Regions from separate parts of the Homo sapiens genome. Here all the other regions are linked to region 2. Evidence: promoter capture Hi-C in 16 types of primary human blood cells and fetal thymus (Javierre and others, 2016). All regions are on one chromosome and are shown on one strand. Each heading gives the region's core, a stretch centred on a gene start or on the middle of the fragment in contact. The rest is flanking DNA. Distances are from core to core; before and after follow the strand shown. Region 1 overlaps ALG9 (ALG9 alpha-1,2-mannosyltransferase). Region 2 holds the start of LAYN (layilin). Region 3 overlaps ALG9 (ALG9 alpha-1,2-mannosyltransferase).

Region 1 (4,057 bases), core at 141-2,640, 270 kb before region 2:
CACACTGCATTTATCCTTTTGTGTCTTGATCTTTTCACTCAACATTTTGTTTATAATAATCACACATGTTATTGCCTGTGGTTTGTTCTCTCTTATTAATATTTCATTGTATGACTTTACCACAATTTATTGATTATTTTACTGTTGACGGGTGTTTTTGTTTCCAATCTGGGTTACTACAGATAACACCACTTTGAACATTCTTGAACTTTTCTTTTGGTGCAGGCATTTCTGTTGGATATACATTAGGTTGAACCATATGAATTACCATTTTTGTGGCTCAAACATCAAATAATAATTTCATGTGGTTCAATCTAATAATTAGGGGTAGAATTGTTAGATCATAGGAAATACATATGTTCAATTTTAGTAGATTTTGCCAAATAGTTTTCTAAAGAACTCTTACCAACTTAATTTCCTGTTAGTAATATATAATTGTTGTTCCACATTCTGGCCAACACTTGATACTGTAATTTTTTTTATTGTGGTTTTCATTTGCATTTGCTGGTTACTAATGAGGTTGAACGCATTTTCACTTGTTGTGGCCATTTCAGTTTATTCTTATAAAGTACCTAAGTCACTTGCCCGTTTTTCTTTTGGGTGGTTTGTCTTTGTCTTGTTGATTAGCAGAAGTTATATATATTCTAGATATGAATCCTTGATGGTTAAATGTATTACATATATCTTCTCTCATTCTGTGTTTTTTTAATTCTTAATGTTTTTTGACTCACTGCAACCTCTACCTCCTGGGCTCAAGCAGTCTTCCTGCCCCAGCCTCCCAAGTAGTTAGGACCACAGGTGTGCACCACCATGCCCAGCTAATTTTTTTATTTTTTGTAGAGATGGGATCTCACTATTTTGCTCAGGCTGATCTTGAACTCCTGGCCTCAAGTGATCCTCCCACCTCAGCCTCCAAAAGTGCTGGGATTACAGGCGTGAGCCACTGCTCCTGGCCTTAATGTGTCTTTTGGTGAAAAGGTATTCTAAACTTTAATATAGTCAAATGTATCGTCATTCTTTTTTATAATTAATGCTTTATCCACAAACTCTTTTACCCAAGATCTTGAAGATATTCTTTTATATTATATTCCGAGAGCTTTATCTTTTCATTTTTAGGCCTATTCATCTAAAGTTGATTTTTGCATGTGGAGTGAGGTTAAAGTTCAATTTCATTTTTCCCCTAAGGGATATCCAGTTGTCTACACCAGCTGGTGAAAAGACAGTCGCTTCTTTGAGGTGTCGCTTCTGTCGTAAATAAGGGTCTGCATGTACCTGCATCTGATCTAGGCTCTTTGTTCTATTTCATTGGTCTGTTGATCTATTCCTCACTGTATTAATTTCTTTTTTTTTTTTTTTTTTGAGACAGAGTCTTGCTCTGTCACCAGGCTGGAGTGCAGTGGTGCAATCTTGGCTCACTGCAGCCACTGCCTCCGGGGTTCAAAGAATTTTCCTGCCTCAGCCTCCTGAGTAGCTGGGACTACAGATGCCCACCACCATGCCTGGCTAATTTTTATATTTTTAGTAGATACGGGGTTTCACCATGTTGGCCAGGCTGGTCTCAAACTCCTGACCTCAGGCGATCCACCTGCCTCGGCCTCCCAAAGTGCTAGGATTACAGGCGTAAGCCACTGTACATGGCCTACTGTATTAATTTCTATAGCTTTACAGTAACTAAGCCCCCACCTTGTTGTTGTTGTTTTTCTTTTTAGTGATGAGGTCTTGCTGTGTCACCCAGGCTGGAATGCAGTGGCATGATCATAGCTTACTGCTGTCTTGACCTCCTGGGCTCAAGCAATTTTCCTGCCTCAATCTCCTGAGTAGCTAGGACTATTGGTACATACCACCATGCCCGGCTAATTTTTAAATTTTTGTGGAAACAGAGTCTCACTGTCTTGCCTAGGCTTATCTCAAATTCTTGGCCTCAAGCTATCTTCCCACTTTGGCCTCCCAAGGTACTAGGATTACAGGTGTGAGCCACCATGCCCAGCCTGTTCTTCTTTTTTAAGAATGCCTTGGCTATTCTTGTCTTTCTGCCTTTCCATACACATTTTAGAATCCGCTTGTTGAGTTTCAAAAAAGTCTGTTAGGATTTTGATTGACATTATATTTAATTTATCAATCAATTTGTTTAGAATTGACATATTTATAATAGTAAGGTTTTTGTCTAGGAATAAAATATATCACTACATTAATAAGGTCTACTTTATTGTGTATCAAAAAAATTATTTGAAATAAAATTCACCATTTTAATGTTTTTTAATTATAAAATATGCACAACACAAAATTTACAATTTTAATCATTTTAAAGCATACAATTCAATGGCTTTTAGTACATTTATAATGTACAACTCTCACCAGTATCCAAGTTTAGAAGATTTTTATTATGCCTCCCCCCCAAAAAAACCCATACCCATTAAATATCCATTAAGCAGCCACTCCCCAGTTCATAGTAACCTCTGTTTTCTGTCTTGGAGGATTTGCCTATTACGAACATTTCATATAAATGGAATCGTATATATGTGGCCTTTGGTGCCTGGCCTTTTTCAGTCACAGCAATATTTTTAAGGTTTATCTGTGGCATAGGCTGTATCAGACCTTCATTCCTTGTTATGGCTGAGTACTGTTCTATTGTATGGATATACCACATTTTAATGGTATGGATATACCACATGAATCTATCTGTTGATGGGCATTTGTCAATAAAATTCTATCCTTTTTTTTTTTTTTTTTTTGAGACAGAGTCTTACTCTGTTGCCCAGGCTGGAGTGCAGTGGTGTAATCTTGGCTCACTGCAACCTCCACCTCCCAGGTTCAAACAATTCTCCTGCCTCAGCCTCCCAAGTAGCTGGGATTACAGGCCTGTACCACCACACCCAGCTAATTTCTGTATTTTTAGTAGAGATGGGGTTTCCCCATGTTGGCCAGGCTGATCTTGAACTCCTGACCTCAGGTGATCTGTCCACCTGGGCCTCCCAAAGTGCTGGGATTACAGGCGTGAGCCACCGTGCCCAGCCAATAAGATTCTATACTTTTTTATGGAGCACTTTCATCTTTTATTATATTTATTCTAAGGTAAACATTTTCAAATGCTTGTAAATTATATTTTTATAAAATTTCATTTTGTTTATTGCTATGGAACATATGACATTGATTGACATCCTGTAAGTCTAAATTTTGCTAAACTGTCTTAATAATTCCAAAATGTATTTGTAGAGTCTTTTGGACCATTATATCATTGTGATGAATGAGTTTTGTTTCTTCCTTTCTGTTTCTTCTGCCCTGTGTTTCTTTTTCTAGTCTTACCCTACTGACTAGATCCTCTAATACAGTGCTGAACAGAGTAGTGACAGCAAGCAGCCTTGACTTATTCTGGATCCCAAAGGAAAAGCTTTTAGTCCTACAACATCAAGTGTGATATTTGCTGCATATCTGTACATGTTTCAAATAGTCTTTATTTTAGCTGACATCTAACAACCTAAGAGGACTCTTTTTTGGTTTTAATTGTTTTAAAAATATTTTTTTGAAGCAGGTCTCTCTTTTGCCCAGGCTGGAATGCAGTGGCATGATCTTGGCTCACTGCAGCCTTGACCTCTGAGGCTCAAGTGATCCTCCCACCTCAGCCTCCTGAGTAGTTGGAACTACAGATATGTGCCACCACACCTAGCTAATTTTTGTATTTTTTAAAGAGATGGGGTTTCGCCATATTGCTCAGGCTAGTCTTGAACTCCTGGGTTCAAACGATCTGTACACCTTGGCCTCCCAAAGTGCTGGGACTACAGGCGAGAGTCACCGGACCTGGCTCAGCATAGTTTTAAATGAAATATTTTAATATTTTCCTTTGAGCATCTACAATATTCTGATGTATCCATGTTATCAGCAACTGGCTGACTCTGTTTTTGTTAATATACAATATTAATGTAATACATAGTATTAACAAAAGCAGAGTTCTGATATCTCACTTTTACTAAACTTTCGCTGCAGGAGCCGTTCCAATGTCTCTGTAAATTCTATTGAATATTTGAAGGAGATGATATGCATGATATTTCTGTACCCCTGT
Region 2 (4,328 bases), core at 1,297-3,796:
TAGTCCCCTGATGCAGATACTGTTTATGGCTTATTTTACAAATGAGAAAACTGGAGCTCAGGGAAGTTAAGTAATTTGGCCAAGATCACACAGTGATCATCAGCATCACCGGAGTTAGAGCCCAGATCTAATTACAAAATCATGCTGGTACCAGTGAACTAAATTGCTAGCTCCCCGCTGCACCCCAGGCTCATGTTTTACTGGGAGCCTATGTAATGTGTCTTATCAGTCTGTCCCCTGAAGGGCTGAAGATCATCTCAGACAAACAGATGGGATTTTACTGAGGAGCCAATAACAAATCGCTCACAGTACACACTGCTCTAGCTTGCGTCTGTGTGACTGAAGCCTTGCTGCAATGGAGACACTAGCCTCATCACTCCTTTCATTCAATCAACATTTATTGAGTGTACACTTTGTGCCTGGCACTGTGCGAGGTGCTGGGAATACAGGAACAAAAGCTACTTCCTAACCCACAGGAGCACACAGCATATGTTTCCGGATTCAAATGTTCAAAGTGAAAACCACGTATCAACACGGGGAGTAGTCCCCCTGCAAAGAGAAAGCCAAATTGTGGGCTGTGGGTGCGAACTGCTGCCACAGTGCCGGGGGTAAAATATTTTGGTTTGGGAACCTCCTCCCAGAACTTCTGGAATGTTCTTGTTTTCCCAACTTGTTTTACAGCTGCGCAGGGAGCCAGATAGCATTCATTAATTCCCAACACTGGCCAGCATATAGGGCAAGGGGCCACAGACAGATAGAACTATATGATTAGTGCTAAATGAGAAAGAGCACATACAGATTATCCAGAAAGCTCCAGTGAGTCTTCATTTTCTATTTCTTCTCTCATCACTTTCATAAAGGAATTCTCAATGAGCAACAAGTTATAAGAGTTCCACATCTTCTCCCTTTTCCTGTCATTATTTGGCTATTGCTGATAATAGAGAAACTCTAATTAGACTGGTCCAGCAGCACATTAGGAGGGTTCAAAAGCCAGACCTGCTTGCAAGAAGGTATTCAGAGAGGCTGAGGCAGGGATACCCCCGGGAAGGGGGCTGGGCCAGCCACGCTTTTGCGATTCCTCAAAGCTGGCTCCAAATTGGGCAGCAGAGGAGGGGCAAATGAGCCCCCAGGAACTTATCCAACCTGGCCACCGGCATAACATAAGCTGGAGTTGAATTTCCTGACAACCCCCACTTTCCATGTTGGATTGTCAAGGGAAACATAACACCTTAAGCGAGTTTCCTGTATGGTCCAGCCTGGCCACACATCCGAAGTCTGCGGGTGAGTGCCAGAGACCGTCAGAGCTGGAAGGAGGCCCGCGGGCCTATCTGGTTCTCCTGCCTTCAGGAAGTGTCCTTCTCTTCTCATTTGCAGGAAGGCGAAGGGTGGGAGGGCCTTCTGTTCCCCGCGACCAAGGACAGAGCCCACGCAGCCCTAACCCAAGCAGCTCAATTCAGCTTCCCACCTCTTTTGCCGCCCCGCCCCCATCCTGAAACCAACTTTACATTCTTTAAATTAGTTTCGCAAGCCAGGATGCCAGAGTAGAGGAGGTTCCCAGTCTCCTCTGTCCCGTTTGGTCAAGCTGTTGGCACCCGCAAAAAGGATCTGAGAAAAGGGCACGGATGTTCTCCCCCCGACATGCAGAACAACTGAAAGAAGCCAGAAGCCAGAGCACTTTACCTCCTCTGAGGTCCAAATCCGAGGCTGCAGTGACACAACAGGAGGAAGGAAGCAGAGAGTCATTCCCCGGAGTCAGGTGGGGCTCGTCCCACACTAACTGGAGTTCTTTCCCGATCTCTAAGCGCTCTCATACCGGGCGCTCGACCCAGCCATCCAACCCCGCAGAAGAGACGAGGAGTAACAGGCAGGGTTCCCACGGCACCGGGGATCCAGCATCCCTACCCCGCTGTCTCTGCGGCCGCCTCCCGGAGCGGGCGGTAGGCGGGGGCCAGCTGGCAAGCCTGCCCCGCGGGGGTGGTCCCAAGGACTGATTCGATGCGTGTAAAGGAGCGGGCCGAAGGGGCACCCACTGGGGCAGGTTTGCCCACTGCCCCACCTCTCCTACATTCTCCAACCCACCCCCATAACTCTGGACTGGGAACGGGCTTCGAGCGTTCCAGGACGCGCAGGGAACTGCGCAGCTCCGGGAACTGGCGTGGGTCTCAGACGCCGTGCGACTGCCCCCAGAACGCAAGAGACTCCGAAGGGCTGCGTCTGGGAGTGGGGCATGGGACGGCCTTCTAGTCCCATACGTGGCGACCCAGAAGAGGGTCAGCAGCAGCTGGGGTGCAGTGAGCCCACCCCGGCACCAGCCCCCGCCCCAGCGCGCGCACTCACCACTCAGCAGGCGACCCGTCGCGGCCCGCAGCCCCACCAGCAGCACGGCCAGCAGCACGGCCTGTAGCGCGGTTCCCGGCCTCATGGCCCGACTCGGGTGCGCCCCCCGACACTCGGGCGCTACGGCGGTGGAGCGGGCTGGCGGGCAGAGGCGTGCGCGACAACTGCAACCGCGGCAGCAGCATCTCTAGGCCACCGACGGACCGCACGGGAGGCGGGGGGGAGGGCGCGGAGTCAGTCGGTCGCCCCTCCGCCCCCTGGGACGTCACTGCGAGGAGGGCAGCCCCGCTGGCTGGCCCGCCCCCGACAGCCTCCTCCAGCGAGGTTGGCGCCAGACACTCGGCCAGCCAGAGAGGGGCGAGTCGCAGAGGGGAACCAGCTCCCTGTCCCCCTCCGAGCTTCCCTGGGAGATCCCGCGTTTGCCCGAGGCGCTGGGCGGAGGAATACTTCAGTCGGGCCCCTAGGCAATCTGATAACGAGCACAGTGTGCCTAAAACTAGCACCACATCTCACCCCTCCTCTCCCGCTGACCTTAGCCAAGTTCGCCAGCTGTGCGGGTGCACCTGGAGAGAGAGGCGATGCGTGGACTCCTACCTGGGGCTCAGCAGGCCGCAGTCCCAGCACGAAGGGCGACGCCTGAGCAGGGAATGGTCGATGCAGAGAACAAACACTCACGCAGGCAGTGTGCCCACCGGCCAGGAAAGTTATGGGACACCGCGCGGATGGCATCCAAAGAACTTGGCTGAGTTGGAGCCCTCCCGACTGAAAGGAAAGCGGCTTCTACCAGAAGCCAAAAGATGTCCCAGATCCCTGGAAGGAAATGATTCTGTTTTTTGCAGGGAACAGGTTGGGAGGTGGGGGTCATAGTTAGGGAGTTCAGCTTTGGCCCCTCGCCCCGCAGGAAAGAATGAAACTATTATCTCAGGAAAAGCTTTCCTAACCTAGCCCTCAATGTGTGCTTCCTCTTGTAAACTCCCAAAGTAGGTGTGTTTCACTTTGGTTTCGTAAACAAAATGCTTTTAAATATAGTCAAGCAATAGAGTGAGCCATCTGTCCAAAGATTAAGGCACTAAGTAGCAGAAGGTGAATCTGACTTTCTGCCTTTTCTGCCACACCATGCTGCTGTGAAGCATAGCAGAAGCCCCATCTGGGCCACGACCTCTGGATTTTGGTTCCAGCTTGCTGCTTCTTACGTACTCTTTCTGCTTTTCAAAACAGCCAAGAAAGCAGTGATGCTTCTAAGGCCTCTAGCCACTGCAATTCTAAACAAACAGCCTGAATACAGGCTGGGGGTGAGAGGGGAGTGGGATGAATTTCAGTATCAGCTGAGACTATGGGGGAGCTCTGCTGCGGCACGTAACAGCTAACAGCGGTTGTGGCAGGATGAGGCCTGACCTTTATGGCAAGATCATTTATAGACCTTCCTTCTGTCCCAGTTAGAATACGTCAATGTCACATCTAACACACTTTCTTCTTAGAAATTCTTGGTTATCAAAACAACTTGAGAGAACTGTTATGGTGAAAAGAAGCACTGGAGTTGGCATTTGAGGGTCTGTTTCAGATTCTGCTCTTCATTTAATGTCTGTGTGGCCTTTGGCAATTCCGTTTGCCTAAGTTTCACTTAACTGTTGGTAACATTAACAGTTGCCTTAAGAGTTTAGTGAGTGTTTGATAAGGCAAATATATATGTAAATGTTCAGATATCTAGGCACTTAATGTCAATTGAAAAGGATTTATTTCTAATATTATAACATCTGCTACAACTTTAAAAAGCTGTTACATAATTAAATCGTGTCCCGACTTCTCGCTTTGATACCCTGGACCTTGGTTCAGATGGATTTTGTTAGGGTATACAGTCAACCAAACCTGGTAGATTACAATAACGGCCCCAATTCTCCACACCTCCCTGTACCCATATCCTTTACCATATGACTTTGTAGTTTCTCTTTCTAAAGAGGCAGAGTATATTTCCCCACACCTTGACTTTGTGT
Region 3 (4,005 bases), core at 1,251-3,750, 310 kb before region 2:
TCTTAGGCTGGCCATTCAGTGCAGCTCTTGGGTAAGAAACTAACAGTTCTCCTCCCATATATCGCTGGGCATATAGTAAATCTTAATGTTGGATTAGCTCCATATTGTCTGCATAGAATCTGAAGTTAATCAATTGGGCTTTCAAAGATTCTGGGAAATGGAAGAATATTTCTCTTAGCACTTACTATTATGATTAATTCTAATAAGAATAATGACCATTGAGCATCTGCTATGTGTTAGGCACAGTGAAACCCTTCGTAAACCTTATCTTGAAACCTTACAACAACTCTGCAGGAGAAATACAATTATTAGTACTTTATAAATGAGAAAGTAGACTCTGAGAGTTTGAATAATTTACCTTTAAGATTATGTTTGCTTTTGAATCCAGGCCTTTTTGACTCTATAGCTGATGTTTTCTCCACGCGGCACCACCCTGTTCTGTGAATTTTTTCACTCACTCGGATTTGAAATCTGAGTTTCCTCCCGTCTTCCTTCTTTCTTTATTTTTATTTATTTATTTATTTTGAGACGGAGTTTCACTCTTGTTGCCCAGGCTGGAGTGCAATGGCACGATGTTGGCTTATCACAACCTCCGCCTCCTGGGTTCAAGTGATTCTCCTGCCTCAGCCCCCCAAGTAGCTGGGGCTACAGGCGTGCGCCACCACACCTGGCTAATTTTGTATTTTTTAGTAGAGACAGGGTTTCTCCATGTTGGTCAGGCTGGTCTTGAACTCCCGACCTCAGGTGATCCGCTCACCTTGGCCTCACAAAGTGCTGGGATTACAGGCATGAGCCACTGCGCCTGGCCCAGTCTTCCTTCTTTCTTGCCCCCAGCATCTTTTTTTCCACCAAGCTCCTTGTATACTCTTTGTTCCCACTACTTCTGTTCTAGTGTGTGGTACCTTAATTTCTTACCTGTACCACAGGTAATTTAGGAAAATATTTTAATCTGATGCTAAGGTTATTTTAGAAGGATTATATCTTTATTGTAAAAAAAAAAAAAAAAAGTAAGTACCAGATTGTATAAGGTAAAAACAATTCCTAATTTTCTTCTCCGCTAGCTCAATCCTCAAAGATAGTCACTGCTAATAGTTTGGTATATGTCTTTCCAGAAAAATTATGCTGTGTGTATAAATATTTGTATACATACCTATCTACATTCTTAAAACAAATGGAATTATTCTGTATATATATAGGTATTCTACATATTAAATTTATATAATTGTTTATATTGGTTGCATAACATTCCATGATTTACTTATTGCCTTATTGGTAGACATTTGGTTTTCATTTTTTTACTGTTATAACCAATGCTTCAGTGAACAATTTTTTTTTCTTTTTTTTTTTTTTTTTTTTGAGATGGAGTCTTGCTCTGTCACCCAGGCTGGAGTGCAGTGGCACGATCTTGGCTCACTGCAACCTCTGTCTCCCGGGTTCAAGCAATTCTCCTGCCTCAGCCTCCCAAGTAGCTGGGTTTACAGGCACATGCCACCACGCCCAGCTAATTTTTGTATTTTTAATAGAGACGAGGTTTTACCATATTGGCCAGGCTGGTCTCGAACTCCTGACCTCGTGATCCACCTGTCTCGGCCTCCCAAAGTGTTGGGTTTACAGGTGTGAGCCATCGTGTCCGGCCCAGTGAACATTATTATACAGATATCTTTGTGCACTTGTGGGAATTTACCTATGGGGTAAATTTTTATGAGGGGAGTTACTAAGAGAATAGTCCATTTTAAAATTTCTTAAGTGCCTTTTAAAGGCTGGTTTCCTCATCTCCATTCCTTTCTTCTATTCTATTTTGCACATTCTCAGATTTTCATGTTCCTCAGGATTGTATCTTAGGTCCTCTTCTGTACTTTCTGCTATCTCTCAGCCATCTTGGTGATTCCCATAGCTTAATGTCTAGTCCAGTTATCTCTCTTGAGCTTCATTCATATATTCCCAGCTGCTTAGTAGATAGCTGCTGAATTCATTATCTTCTCTCCATAGCTGTTCCTTTACTTGTGTTTCTATTCCAGTAAATAGTACTGCTGTCTCCTCAATACTGACCCAGAAACCTGAAAATTGTCTGTGACTCTTCTCTCTTTCCCATCAGTGTTAATTGGTTGTATCTCCTGAATATCTTTTGAATCTGATTACTTGTCTTCACTCCCCCTTGTTCCTGGATCACTACACGGCCTCCTAAATGATCTCCTCCTCTCTAGTCTTGACCCCTGTAAATCAGCTCTCCAAACTCCACTAGAGTTATATTCCTCAAATGCAGATGTGGTTGTATCACTTCCCTGTTTTAAACTCTATGGCAGCTTCTCCATTGCTTTATGTCATGGAGGTTGGCCGACTGACCTGTTTTTGTATAGCCCAACAACTAAATAGTTTTTACGTTTTTAAAGGGTTTTTAAAAAACAACAAACATACACAGAGGGAGAAGACTATGCAACAGAGAACATATGTGGCCTGCAGACCCTAAAATATATACCGTCAGATCCTTTAAATAAAAAGTTTGCCAACCCCTGCCCTGTGGTATCCAAACTCAAAGATAACACAGAAAGCCCTGCATGGTCTTCCTTTTACTTTTCCAGCTTCTTTTTGTCAGTTCTTCCATTCCTTTCATTCACTATTTCATCTACATTGAATTTCACTGAGTTCCTCAAATACCTCTTGGGTGCCACATTTCGATGAGTCTGCCTTTACCAAGATAAGTGATTTCAGGATCACAATTAGTCAGTTAGCAATCAGTATACTGTCATTCATTGAATGCTTTGTGCTAGATACTGCTGATATTTTAGAAATTAGACAGTCATGGTTCCTGCCCTTTTGGAACTTAACATTTTAGTAGGAAAGACAGATATTGGACAAGTAATTAAAAGTATGACTTATCAAAGGAGAAATACAGGTGCTATGGAAATGGAAGTAGTTGGGGTGACAAAAAATAAAAACGCAAAATGTTATACGGAATTTACATAACAACATGGAGGTTCAAATCACAGAAGAGGTACTGTGACAGCACATGACATTGCTAAATCAATGATAGAGATGATGATGCCATATAAATTCAAAGATGGGGCCAGGCGTGGTGGCTCATGCCTGTAATTCCAGCACTTTGGGAGGGCGATGCAGGCAGATCTCCTGAGGTCAGGAGTTTGAGACCAGCCTGGCCAACATGGTGAAACCCTGTCTCTACTAAAAATACAAAACAATTAGCGGGGTGTGGTGGTGCACACCTGTAGTCCCAGTTACTTGGGAGGCTTAGGCAGGAGAATTGCTTGAACCCAGGAGGCGGCAGTTGCAGTGAGCTGAGATCACACCACTGCACCCAGCCTGGGCGACAGAGTGAGACTCTGTCTCAAAAAAAAAAAAAAAAAAAAAAAATTAGCCAGGGCTGATGGCCTGTGCCTGTAGTCCCAGCTACTCGGGAGCCTGAGGCAGGAGAATGCTGGAACCTAGGAGATGGAGGCGGTAGTGAGCCGAGATTGCGCCACTGCACTCCAGCCTGGGCAATAGAGTGAGACCCTGTCTCAAAAAAAAAAAAAAAAAAAAGTCTGTAATAAGGTTATTACTAAAATCCTAGTAAATCATGGAAGGGTGAGGTTAGTACTTATTTATTTGGCAGGGTGGGTGTAAGACAGTAGGGCACATATATTTTAAATTTCTGTTACCCATAAATGTGTATAAAATGGAATTCATTCCAGCAGCTCAGTAATTCTATTTCTTGTGCATCAGTGGGATACAGAGCACTCTGACAGGTCCTGTGACGACATCCTCTCACATACCAGGTTTCTTCCCTCACTATAACTGGCAGAGGCATTTTATTCTCAGTTCAGCATGAGGTATGTGTGAATCTGATTTGTCTCTGTCAGTATTTATTTAACTCCCCGCTCTGTTTCTCTGTTAAATAGTTTACCCATTGCCTTTGATTTGCTGGTCATGAAACACAGGTGGAAGAGTTTCTTTCATTGGTCGCTGATGGCCCTCATACTATTTCTGGTGAGTTTTCTTTTTTACTTG

Evidence for each region. Contacts are between HindIII fragments. The CHiCAGO score rates a contact against its expected background, and 5 or more counts as called.
Region 1: a fragment that was not itself captured here is called in contact with the fragment with the promoter of LAYN in region 2 in 1 of 17 cell types (naive CD4 T cells); the score reaches 5.3 in naive CD4 T cells.
Region 3: a fragment that was not itself captured here is called in contact with the fragment with the promoter of LAYN in region 2 in 9 of 17 cell types (naive CD4 T cells, fetal thymus, naive CD8 T cells and 6 more); the score reaches 7.9 in naive CD4 T cells.

Annotation. Positions count from the first base shown.
Region 1 is chr11:111,810,218-111,814,274 of GRCh38, reverse strand. The region is part of intron 13 of ALG9 (ALG9 alpha-1,2-mannosyltransferase); the gene reads left to right. Among named protein-coding and RNA genes, the nearest start is that of PPP2R1B, 46 kb to the right of the region's middle. The HindIII fragment of the contact is 4,001 bases long and covers 1-3,390 here.
Region 2 is chr11:111,538,938-111,543,265 of GRCh38, reverse strand. It overlaps LAYN (layilin), which reads right to left and starts at 2,546. Exons shown (of 7, transcript NM_178834.5): 1 at 2,338-2,546. The coding sequence starts at 2,422. RefSeq lists an enhancer at 2,764-3,443. The HindIII fragment of the contact is 6,714 bases long and covers 1-3,270 here.
Region 3 is chr11:111,853,628-111,857,632 of GRCh38, reverse strand. It overlaps ALG9 (ALG9 alpha-1,2-mannosyltransferase), which reads left to right. Exons shown (of 15, transcript NM_024740.2): 6 at 1-31; 7 at 3,897-3,984. Among named protein-coding and RNA genes, the nearest start is that of ALG9, 16 kb to the left of the region's middle. The HindIII fragment of the contact is 6,586 bases long and covers 1-4,005 here.